2 separate regions of the Homo sapiens genome follow, and region 1 is linked to region 2. The links are contacts of gene promoters, found by promoter capture Hi-C in human tissues and cell types (Jung and others, 2019). All regions are on one chromosome and are shown on one strand. Each heading gives the region's core, a stretch centred on a gene start or on the middle of the fragment in contact. The rest is flanking DNA. Distances are from core to core; before and after follow the strand shown. Region 1 has its middle 13 kb from the start of RAD51AP2. Region 2 holds the start of VSNL1 (visinin like 1).

Region 1 (5,606 bases), core at 2,106-4,605, 34 kb before region 2:
AGTTTTGTAAACGTAAAAGTACTCTAATAAACAAAGCCTATTAATTTTTTAAAGATAGTATTATAAAAATGTTAATGGTTTATAAAACTGTGCTCTGCCATTTTTTAACAAGAGTTTTAATCTAAATAAGAATGTTATATCTCAAAAATATTCCTAGACTCAACTTACTTTATGGTATTCTGATCAATATAGCTATATCTCAATAAACTTATTTCCTGTTAAAAATAGTTTATTGTTAAATAAAAGTTTTTAAACTATATGTAAGTTAAATCAGTTTTTAGAGAAATAAGTCCATATATATCTCAAAATTATACATTGAGCTAATTTTATACTACTCTGCCACATACAAATTAAATTTCTCTGTCAATAAGCATGTAGTTTGTCATTTGCAAGAAAAAAGGAATTTGAGATGTGTAGAGAAATTTTGTGAAAGTATACTAAGATATTTGAGCAACATGCCACTAAATTAGAAGTAAATAAAAAATTTAAAAGCAAATAAAGTAATTTTAAAATGAAGTACCAGCTGGAAGACTGATCCACCCAGCGGGCTATAAAAGAATCCCTTGGTCCTGCTTTTGGTTCTTGCAAGCTGAAACCCTTTGTTCCTACAAATAAGTGGCCTCCAAATGTTGATTATTGGCACTATATCTATATATCTTGCAGCAAGTTGCCCTTTTTCATGAAGGCACTTAATAACTGATAATGGTGGCAGTAATAACAAGGATATTTATTCAAAGGGTAGCAGTTAGAGTAGCAGATTTGCAAGATATTATTTTTGTACACCAAATTTTAAGACAGGAAAATTGTTTTGTGAAACATTCTTTTTTGCCTATTGATGAAAATACACAAATATTTTCATAATATTTTGTCTAAAATCAGTACTATTGATGGATAAAAAATGTGTGCAACTCAATTTGAGTAGGTGTTAGGCATATTAAAAGGCATTTATACAAACTATGTGAGGAAAAAGTGGGATTGTGCTTTGAAGCTGACCTAAGAAGTAGAGGAAGACAGGGTCAACAAGAAAAGGCCAAAGACAAAAATATGCCAAAAATGCCTTTTGTATTTAGTTACATTTTCTTCTGGAAACCAAAAAAAAAAAAAAAAAAAGCTATAAGCTTACTAGATTTATCAATAAGAATATAAAGCCAAATATAAGATGCCATGAAATAAATGCAATATTAACATTCAAATATAATTAACAAACATTTTTAGTATAAAGCTCTGATACACTGCTTTAGAGACTGCAAAGTTTCTAAAATGATCTCTATGCCCAAGCTTAGATAGGCAAAGATAAAATACAAAGCAGGTGTAATAAATGCTTGATGATGCATTAAAAAGAAAGCACTATCATTATTCAGGGGACTTAGCAATCATAAAATGTTCAAGTAGTTGGGAAAAGCAGTATAAAGGTGGTAGTTTAAGGACAGGTGTGATTTAAACAGGTGAAAGAAAGTGCATCTCAGTAGAGGAAAAAATTAGCAAAATGGGAAAATATTAGTTGGGAGAAAGTGGTGCATTAATAGACTAGCCAAATTGTAGGGAAGTTGAGGGGCGGCCAGTTGGAAAGTTCTATTAGGTAAGGCCACTTTATAGAGGCTCTAAAGAATGAAGAAGGATGCATTGGTTAAGGGTTCCTTAGAAGGAAGAAGTAACAGAACTTGACAGTATAAAATAAATGTCAGGTGGTAGAGTGAATGATGACTGATGAGATATTAGACAACTGAGTTGAAGTTGTTGACCTATAGCAATGTGGAAATCAGAGCAATATAACAGCAGTTAAGAGCTTTGGCCATAGGGCAGACTGCATGGGTTTGAATTCTGAAAACATAATACTTTGTGACCTTAGACAAGTTATTTAACTCACAATGTAAAATGGAGATAGTAATGGTATCTGACTGTGAGGTTATTTAAAGATTAAATTAGTATTTTATATATACAGATTTTAGAATAGCTCCTGAACCGTGGCATGTATTTCATAAACATTAGTTTTTTTAATTATTGTTATGCTGCCAAAATTAGAATTTGAAAGGTATAATTTGTTTCCAAAGCATAGAGTTTGTTGATGTAGTTGTAATTGATATATAGAGAGATATAATAGACATAATTTGTTTCCAAAACTGTAGAGTTGGTAAATGTGGAGGCCGTAAGTGATCCCATGAAAAATGAATGAGATTTCTAAGCGTAAAACACAGAAATAAAGAGCAAAAGTCCATGGACTATACTTTGAAGTTTCCTTATATCTGAGGATTAGAAAGCAAAAGAGATACAATTGTTAGGAAAATAAAAGGTAGTGTATCATCATAAAGTGAAAGTTTCAAGAATAGAAAGCAGCTAACGATGCAAAGAAATAAAAGAAAATGCAAACTGAAAAAAGGCCAAAGTCCTCTGCATTTTAAGAGTATTCTTTCTGATGAGAGAAGGCAGGGCAGGCAAAGAGATAAAAACTCTGAGGAGAGAGGAGAAAGAATGTGTGCACATACAGATGAAAGCTTAATAAAGAATTGAGTAGCAATTTGAGCTAGTGGATGTATAGTAGTGAAATAAAGGAGAGAAATTGCAATCATAATTAGACAGGCAGCAAAATCAATTACAAAGTTTTTTTTTAAAAAAAACGAAGACATGGACTGTGTAATTAAGCGTACAGATAAAATTGAATTTGTTGGAATATGAATACTTTGTTAAGATAGTGTTAAAGATATTTGAAATAGTTAAAAATCAGAATTTCTAAAATTGCTTCAGAAATTAAGGTAATTTTAATGGAAATGTCAGATTCACTAAGCCCAGTTTACTTTTCAAGTTTCTGTTTCTTAACATTGAAAAAAAGTTTTATAACCTTAAAATTGTAACACGTTAAAATGCATAAATTATTAAATTTGTTAAGTATACCATAATGACCAAATTTCTTTATAGAAATATATATTTAAGGAAAAAGTAAGATACAAAGACAATCATGCATATTTTAAAGTATAGGTATAAAACAGATAATAACTAAAAATACCCTCTATGCTTATTAATAATAAAATATTATTTTTTCATAGGAGCAAGTAGCTGTTGACAATTGTTTCCTCCATCAACAGAAACTGAAAAGTTGAGTGTGGAAAAAAAGAAAAGGACTTATACTCACTCTTTCTTTTTTTGTTCTTTATCCTCTGTATTTTGTACCATGTCTAGGTATTAACTTTTCAAAAATGAATCAGTAAATAAAATTTAAAAGACTGTTTAAAGGGGAATTATAAAAGTAAAAAGGCAAAAATTAAAATTTGGAAAACTCTAATAGATGTTTTTTACTAACTCAAAAGGAAAAGGCCATTAGAAAATTTAAATACGGATGTTGTTTACAAAGATTTTAAGTGGCATAAGAGATACGACATTGAATTTTAAATATGTACCAAATTTTACTATGGTTTGCCTTATTTTTTTCTTCATTAAAAAAGACTAATTTTAAATTCAGACACGTTAGGCAGCTAAATGCCTGAAGAAGATCACATAGTAAATGATCTAGATCGAAGCTTTGTTTTCACTTCTCTGGTTCAAGGAGAAAATACAAAAGAGAATAGCAAAGAAGAGGGAAGAGACCTTTAAATTCCAGGAGGGCACAAAGGTATATGATTCAAGAAGTTTATTCAGCATGATATGTTTAAGACATACTCGCTGTTGGTCTCATTATTCAATTTTTTGTCAATAACATTTATTGAATACTTACGTCAAGCACTGTCCTAGGCACTGGGGATAGAGTAATAAATATAACACAAAAGACTTTTGCCCTCACAGAGTTTAAAACCTAGTGGCAAAGACAGGCAATAAACAAAATAAAAAGTAAAATATGTAGTATGTCCATAGTAAATTATTAAGGAGGAAAAACTGAAAGCAGGGAAAGGGAATATGAATGTTAGCAGGAAGGAAAGGCCACACTTTGAAGGTGACATTTGAATAAAGCTATTAGGAAGGTGGTACAAGGCAAGCTATACAGATATCCTAGGAATAAGCATTCCAGGAAAAGAAAGTAAGTGCAAAAGCCATGAGTCAGGGACACACCTAATGTGTCTAAGAAACAGGAAGGCCATTGTGGTTTCAGAGGAATAAACAAGGGGAAAATACAGAGAAGAGTTTAAGGAGGCAAGAGAAGGTCAGATCATTATAGCCCTCATACATCCAAGTAAGAATTTTGGCTTGTATTCCGAGTGAGAAGGAAAGGCTTTGGAAGGTTTTGAGCTGAACTGGGATATGCTACAACTTATATTTTAAAGAATCATTCTGGCTACTGTGTTCAGAATAGACTGAAGGGGAGCAAGAACTGAAGCAGAGAGATCAGTTAGGACTCAATTGCAATAATCCAGACAAGAGAAGCCAAAGGCAATAGGATTGGTTGACAGGCCAGCCATGGGTTATGAGAAAAAAAATAAGTGTCAAGGATGACTCCAGCATTTCGTCTCTAAAAGAATAGAATTGCCATTTACTGAAATAAGAAACACTGTGGAAGGAAGAGTTTGGGAACAAATATCAGAAGCTCAGTTTGGGCCATGGTAGCTTTGCAATGCCTATTAGTCATCACAGTAGAGAGACTGAGTAAAAGTCATGAGTCTTGAATTCAAGAAAGAGATCCACAGACTTCTTTTTTTTTTTTTTTTAATTATGAGTTTCTCCAAATTATGAAATTACAGAAGAAATTACAGAGACCTTTAGATCTTGAGTTTATTTTTTGCCCATTGCCTGGATAGGTGGTATGGTTTAGTGACTGTTCCTTTCTGAATATGCTGTGTTTTTAAAAGAATATGTTAAATAGGCTTATCTAGCAAGGATAGTTTCAAACAATGATATGTGTTACAACAAAATGGGAAAAATATAATTTCAGATCCTCTTGATATCTTATTCTCTTTAATCTAAAAGATTATTTTTAGCAGGATAAACTCTGCCACAATCTATTATGTGTCAATGTAAATGTGTAATGCCTGCATTATTAAAAAGATTTCCCAAAATGATGACTGACTCTATAAACATTCTTTTATGTGGCAATTTAGATGGAACTAAAGATCAATTTCATTGCATATTTTGTTTTCCATTTTGCTTAACTAAATAAGGTTAAACAGGTAACTCAGAGATTTGCATACTTAAGGTACAGACTATCCACATCACTTTTTCAAGATGATTTAATATAAGGCTCTGCTTCTCTTCTCATGCTCACAGTTATGCATCCAGAGGCTTGTAACTTTAAACTGAAGTAACGCAGAGATTCACTCTGAAGTTGAATAAAAGCAAGTACTTTTTAAAGTGGCTTTTTATCCTTTAAATATTTCCTCTGATCTGAAAGCATTCAACTTTTACATTTTAAGAGCAAAGATAAAAAAGAAAAAGGTGGAGAGAGGATGGGTATCAGTTTAAAATGTCTTCCACCACGGATCCCATGCAGCCTTTCCAAACCTGGCTATGAAGACACAAAAACACAAGAAGAGCTAAAATGTTGCCTTCCTCCTATCCTCCAACTTACTATTTCCGGAGAAAATAACTCACAGACCTAGGCAGGAAAGGGAAGGTCCTGTGTGCTTATGTTGTGTATTTGGTTGGAGGTAGTTAGGGAAGGAGTGCTTGAGGAATTACACTAGCAG
Region 2 (5,702 bases), core at 53-2,552:
GCACCGAAGGGTAGGTCAACTCTACAGTTTTCCTGAACATGATAAGGTGTGTGAAGACGCTGTGCAAATTGTACAGCGCTCTGCTTAAGGAGAACCTCGATCTTCATCTCGCCCCCAGAACTTCCCTCCCTTGAAAATAAAACTCCCACCTGAATGTAAAGCCCAGGAGGGGGTTTTGTTAACCGCACTTATTCCCAAAGCATAAAGGAATGTCTAATAGTTTTGCAAATGCTTCCATGAATAATTGTTGAATGAGTTCATGTACAACATACACACTTGAGGAAAACTGGTCTGGTTGGGAACATCTGGGAATTCTCCTTGCTTTTCTGGTAGGGAAGCGACCGACCAAACATTTATTGGGCACTACTCCTTGCCAAGCCTTCTAGGCTTTGGCAGGCCAATGGGGAGCCGGGGGGAGGGCTGGCAAACCTGTTAGTTGTTCAAGGACACAAAGGGGGCTTTATAAGATGGCCTAATCAGAGCCCTTAAACGTGGGTTCGCAAAATGGTTCATTCCCGCCCTTTCACCCACCCCCTCCCACCCCAGACGCAAAGCATATGTTAAAAACACTTAAGTGCATACAGAAGGCGCTTGGCTCAGGGTACACAGGGCAAGAAGCCTCGGATCCCAGCTCCCTTTAACACACATTTTTTCAACGCCGTTCTGGACCGAGACTGTCCGGGGCACTGGGTGCTGCAGGACCCGGCTCCCAGTACTCCTAGCAGAAGACCCTCTGATGAAATGGCCCATGACAAAATGACCACCATAACCGTTCCTTCAGTAAGCCAGGTAGACGTGCTCACAGCTTGCTGGGAAGTCTTCTTTCGGAGATTTCTGCAGTTTTCTCCTTCACCTTACAGCCTAACAAAGGGTGGGCCGGGGGTCGGCTAGGACAGAAAGCAGCGGGAAAAGCGGCTCCACGTGTTCCATCTCTGGCCTCGGCCTTCAGCCCCCAGGTTCGGTAACCACTGGGCGTGGCGAGTCCGGGTAACCCGCAGTCCCTCGCGCCCGTCCAGGTGCGGGTTGCTCCGGTAGCCGGACTCCCTTTTCCTATATACTTTCCTTTTGAGCTTTTGCTAAAATCTGGAGACGTGGAATCCACCCGCGGAAACTCCGAGCCCCTCCGACTGAGCATGCGCCATCGCCAGGCGGCTTTTGGTCACAGGCTCCCGAGTTCTCCTAGCTGGGGCTGCGGAGCTGGGGGGAGGGAAGAGAGGAAAGGGGAGGGGGTGCCTGGAGAGGCGGAGGCTCGCGCGCCTGCGCATCCAGCTCCAGGGACCCTAGGTTTTCTATGGGATTCCCAATCTGCAGCAGAGATTTACCCGAGCGTGTTGCGGCAGCGGCTGGGCTTGCAAGGCGCGATCCAAGAGGGATTTAAGCAGCCCAGAGCTCCAGAGAAAAAGAGAGCGAGAGAGAACCACACACAGAGACGGCTTAAGCGTTTACCCGAATTAAATATATATTTTTAAAAAGAACTGTTGAGTTTTATCATTTTCGTTAAGTGACCGTGCGCAGCGCTGTAACTGTAAGTGGAAAATACAATCTTCGTTGCATTTCTGCATGTGTAGTGCAACCAACTGTCAGAGAAATGCTTTGGCTATTGTCACATACTTTGCTTTGCATAGATGCGTCTAAATGCATGGGGACAATTTCCTTGCTTAATGCTGGCGATCTGAATGTGCTCTTAGTCCATGGGGGATCTTTTGGAATATTGGGGGTGGGGGAAGGGGGAGTGTTTATATGCGGCGTGTTTGGGGGATTGTCTTAGACTAGATTTAAGACAGGTGAAACTGAGATGCTTTCTTAGTTTGTCTTAGACAGATTTAAGTAGCTAATTGACCGATTGTGAAGTTTTCCGGTTGCTGATAAAACTATTGAGCGGGTACAGTCGAGTAGCAACCTGTCATCCGTGGGATTGGTGCACCATTTTTCTCACTGTGGAAGGGCAGCAAAGGTGTTTGCTAAGTAAAACTGAGTGGATGAGATTGGTATGGAAATCATGGTTGATCTCTGAGCGGGATGTTAGTGTTTAAGATCCACGGAGTCAGGCGCAAAATGAGCACATTTCTCTCAGTATTCAGAAATGAGTAGATAATTTTTTTCGTCTTTGATTTTTGTCACAATGGTGAATGGGCAGAAAAGGGAAAGATGCTCTACTGCACTGTCGATTTTGAACGGAGTCACAGGCTCGGTCGCTGAATGGGGACTGTCAGACCCAAACTAGTTACCTGCCTTTGCATTCCGTGTTCGCCATCCGGAATCTGGGGTTAAAAAATGTAAATCAAGGTGTGTTACATTTGGTAGTATTTCTTTAAAGGATAAAAGGTCGTTTTGTGTTTTGAGTTAAAATGGGTTGTTCCTTGCCCAGAAACTGGAAGAAGGGTCTTTGCAAGGTCAAACCCCGGGTGGAAATCAGAATGATGAATACCCTCAGGGGTACAAGAATGTGTACGTGGAAGGAGCGAGGAGAGGCTGATGCTCCCTGCATGGTGGAAATGATGAGTGCTCCGCATTGCCTGATCAGTGCCCTGTGAGATGCCAGAGTGGGAATCCATTTTTCTAGAGTTGCCCTCCTGTCCGTATTTTGGAAACTAAAATAAAATAGAATTGTTGGTGGTTGTGGAGAACACTAAGTACATACTATTTGTGTATCACTTTCCAGTTGAAGGCAAGAAAAGCTGGGGAGTTTTATTTCTACATATTAATATTTATTTTAATTTCTAAAGGAATTTCAGGTTGAGACAAATTTAAAATGAAACTCTTGTGAAAACACATTTTACCCCCACTATCATTTAAACTGCCTACGTGTGTTTGTGTGTGTGTGGTGGGGGGGAGTAGGGGGTGATCCTACATCATTGAACAACTTACTTTTGAATGCACTCTCATTAAGCCTTGGGTATTTAATAACCCCAGAAAATGCTGCACTGAAGCAGGTTGGCAGAATGGGCATGAGGCAGAAAGATGAGAAAAAAGCATGGCTAGTGCGTGCTGGATTTCCACGAAATAAGCAAATCCAATTTTGGGGATGAAATGAAATAAATTTTCCCTCAAATCGGGTGTGGGGGCCATCAAATAGGGCTCTTTGGCCCTTTGATCAGTCCAACCATTTGGAACCCCTCAAAGGAATTTATAATTTATTTAAATGGATGAAATTTGTAATTGAAAATTCGAGAAGAACCTCTCATTGGAAATCCACAGTATAAATCATACTGCCTTGTCTATTCCTTCTTTCCTTACTCCAGGGCAGAAGGACTAATCATTTGTCATAATTGAGCCATACTCCCTGTCATCATTGAGCATTGGCATCAGTTCGATGAATGGTGCAGGTGTTGACACTGCATTGATAAAGAGGGGTGGTAGAGGAAAAAGGGGGGAATTAGGTATCAAAACTGATAAATGCTTGGTCTTGGAGTCCCTGGCTCATAGGTTGACAGAGAGGATCAAGTTAGGCAGAGACCCTGTAAGGTATCTAGTCCAAACCCCTTGCTTTGTAGATGAGGAAACTGAGGCCCAGAACCATGGATGTAGAGAAAAGTCAATTAACTTCTAGTCTATGGAATAAACAATTAAAAAGTAATGTTGAGTGGAAATGTTTCCTTCTCTCTTTCATTTTCAGCAGTCTCAGTGACATTGCTGCAGACTTCAAATAAATAACTGTCTGCTCTCCAGCACATCTTTTGAAATTGTCTCTAGGGGTCCCTTTTATACCACCTCATTTCTCTTCCTTGCCTCTCTTTGTCTTGTAAGGTCTCTTTCTCTCTCTTTTTTATTGCCCCTCACCTCTAATATCCCCACCTCTTTGGATGTTTAGTCTGGCTTTTCTGGCCTCCTCTGCATCTCAGACAATTTCTTTGGAATCCTTGGCGTTTGCCGGGAGCACTAGCGTATCAGAATCTGCAGTTCCTGTTTGAGAACTGCCCAGGGCCCATTTCCATCTTTCCCTGCTGTGTTCCCCAAAATCCTTCAGGGAATCCAGCCTTCAAAGACACTGCAGTTACATTCCCACTTTTCTCCCCATCTGTCCTCCTCCAAAACCACTGCAGCTGCAGAGATTAGGACTTCGTGGAGTGAGGAAGCTGCAGGGTTTCCAGAGTGGACTTTGCCAGCTCACCTCTGGCTCCTAGGAGGCAGAACCCAAATTAGAGATGCCTGTCTCCAGCCTTCCTGGAAATCCTCCAGATAAAGCCACCTGCGGAGAAGGGAAAGGGAAGGGACAGAAAGACCGAAGAAGGCTTGACTGGTTTAACCTGAAGTTGTGCTATAGAGGAGAGTAGTGCAGCTTTTTCATCCTTTAAAGCTTTTAAAGCATTTGCATAGCTTTTCCTCAGGCAGATCTTTTGTTTTATTCTTTCGCAGTTTCTGCTCTCATCTTGCTGGATGAGGGCTGCAAAGCAGACAAGGTGACCCGCCTAACTGGCCTTCCTACCTTCCTCCTGTTTTTTCTCCTTTTTTTCCTCTTTTGCTTTCTCCATTTCTTCCTCATTTTCTCCCTTTCTTCCATAAAAATTCTCTGAGTGCCTATACAATAACATTCTATGCCTCCTAAATATAGTCTGGGCCTTCCTGTTTCTTCTCCAAAAATGTAATCTCCCAGGCACTCAGAAAGATACTCACAACTACCACAAATGGGGAAATGCTAAGGATTCTTACATGAAAAAAGCTGAGGCATTAGGAAAGGAGGAGCTTGATGATTGGAATGCAAGGCCAGAGGAAGTCCCACTTGGGATCTCTTTCTCATTTCAAAGAGTAGGTAACTACTCTTGGAAGTTGTTGAAGCTTTTAAGAAGCAAAGTGGTGAGTTTCTCAACACCTTTACCAATTAACAATTTAATTTAACCCCTCCTCTGTTGGTAAATCTTTACAGAATTGGGATGAGCTCTGTCTTGGATGGAGTCTGTTTCTAACAAATGCTCTCGGGTTAGTTAGATGTTACCTGATCTTGCTGATATACCCATTCATATACCCTTGCAGAATACCCATTCCAGGGTATTCTGAACACCAGATAGATAGCCTTTGCAGAGATGCGGAGATTTGTAGTTGCTAAGTGCCCCGCTTTGGTTTACTACACTGTGAATCACCTCCCCATTACATGTGAGTCACATGTGATAGGATTACAGCATCAGGAATATTGTCTTGGGCAAGCTATAGATTTTCTATTTGGGTTGCATGTAGTTATGAATTCCAAACATTGTGGAGAGGCTCCCTAGGGAGTTTCACAGAATAACAGTTCAGCATCAGTATCAAACATATGGTTTCCTAATTGATAACAGCAATATATTTTCACTGTTCTCAAGGTCTTTTTCTTTGTTTTGAGTGATTTCTATGCTCCTAAAATTAGTGATTATTTAGGAAAATAGGAAGGCTCTCTCCACAGAAATGATCACATTTAATTAATCTAAACTGACAGTGTCCATCTTCATTATGCATAGTGAATATAAACATTAATTTTCCTAAAGTATCAAATGGTACAGAGATATATTAAAGAATGATTGATAGTTTTACTATCCCAATGGTTAATTCATATGACTAATAGAACATATGAGCTGGACAAGATCCATATAAGTCACCTAATCCATCCCTCCAATCCATTTTTAAAATAGTATCTTCAGGAAATTTTTTTATCTTAAAGACACCCCTACAATATGAATTCGTTGTCTGGAAAAGCAATGATTTTAATGACCTTTTAAAATATTTCCACAATA

The links. Contacts are between HindIII fragments. The study calls those that stand out against the background at their distance.
Region 1: a contact is called between a fragment that was not itself captured here and the fragment with the promoter of VSNL1 in region 2, in 1 of the 25 tissues and cell types used here (aorta).

The regions. Positions count from the first base shown.
Region 1 is chr2:17,502,900-17,508,505 of GRCh38, forward strand. No RefSeq gene overlaps it. Among named protein-coding and RNA genes, the nearest start is that of RAD51AP2, 13 kb to the right of the region's middle. The HindIII fragment of the contact is 4,314 bases long and covers 1,199-5,512 here.
Region 2 is chr2:17,539,394-17,545,095 of GRCh38, forward strand. VSNL1 (visinin like 1) reads left to right here and starts at 1,303. Exons shown (of 4, transcript NM_003385.5): 1 at 1,303-1,525. RefSeq lists enhancers at 4,029-4,540, 4,541-5,052. The HindIII fragment of the contact is 10,007 bases long and covers 1-4,536 here.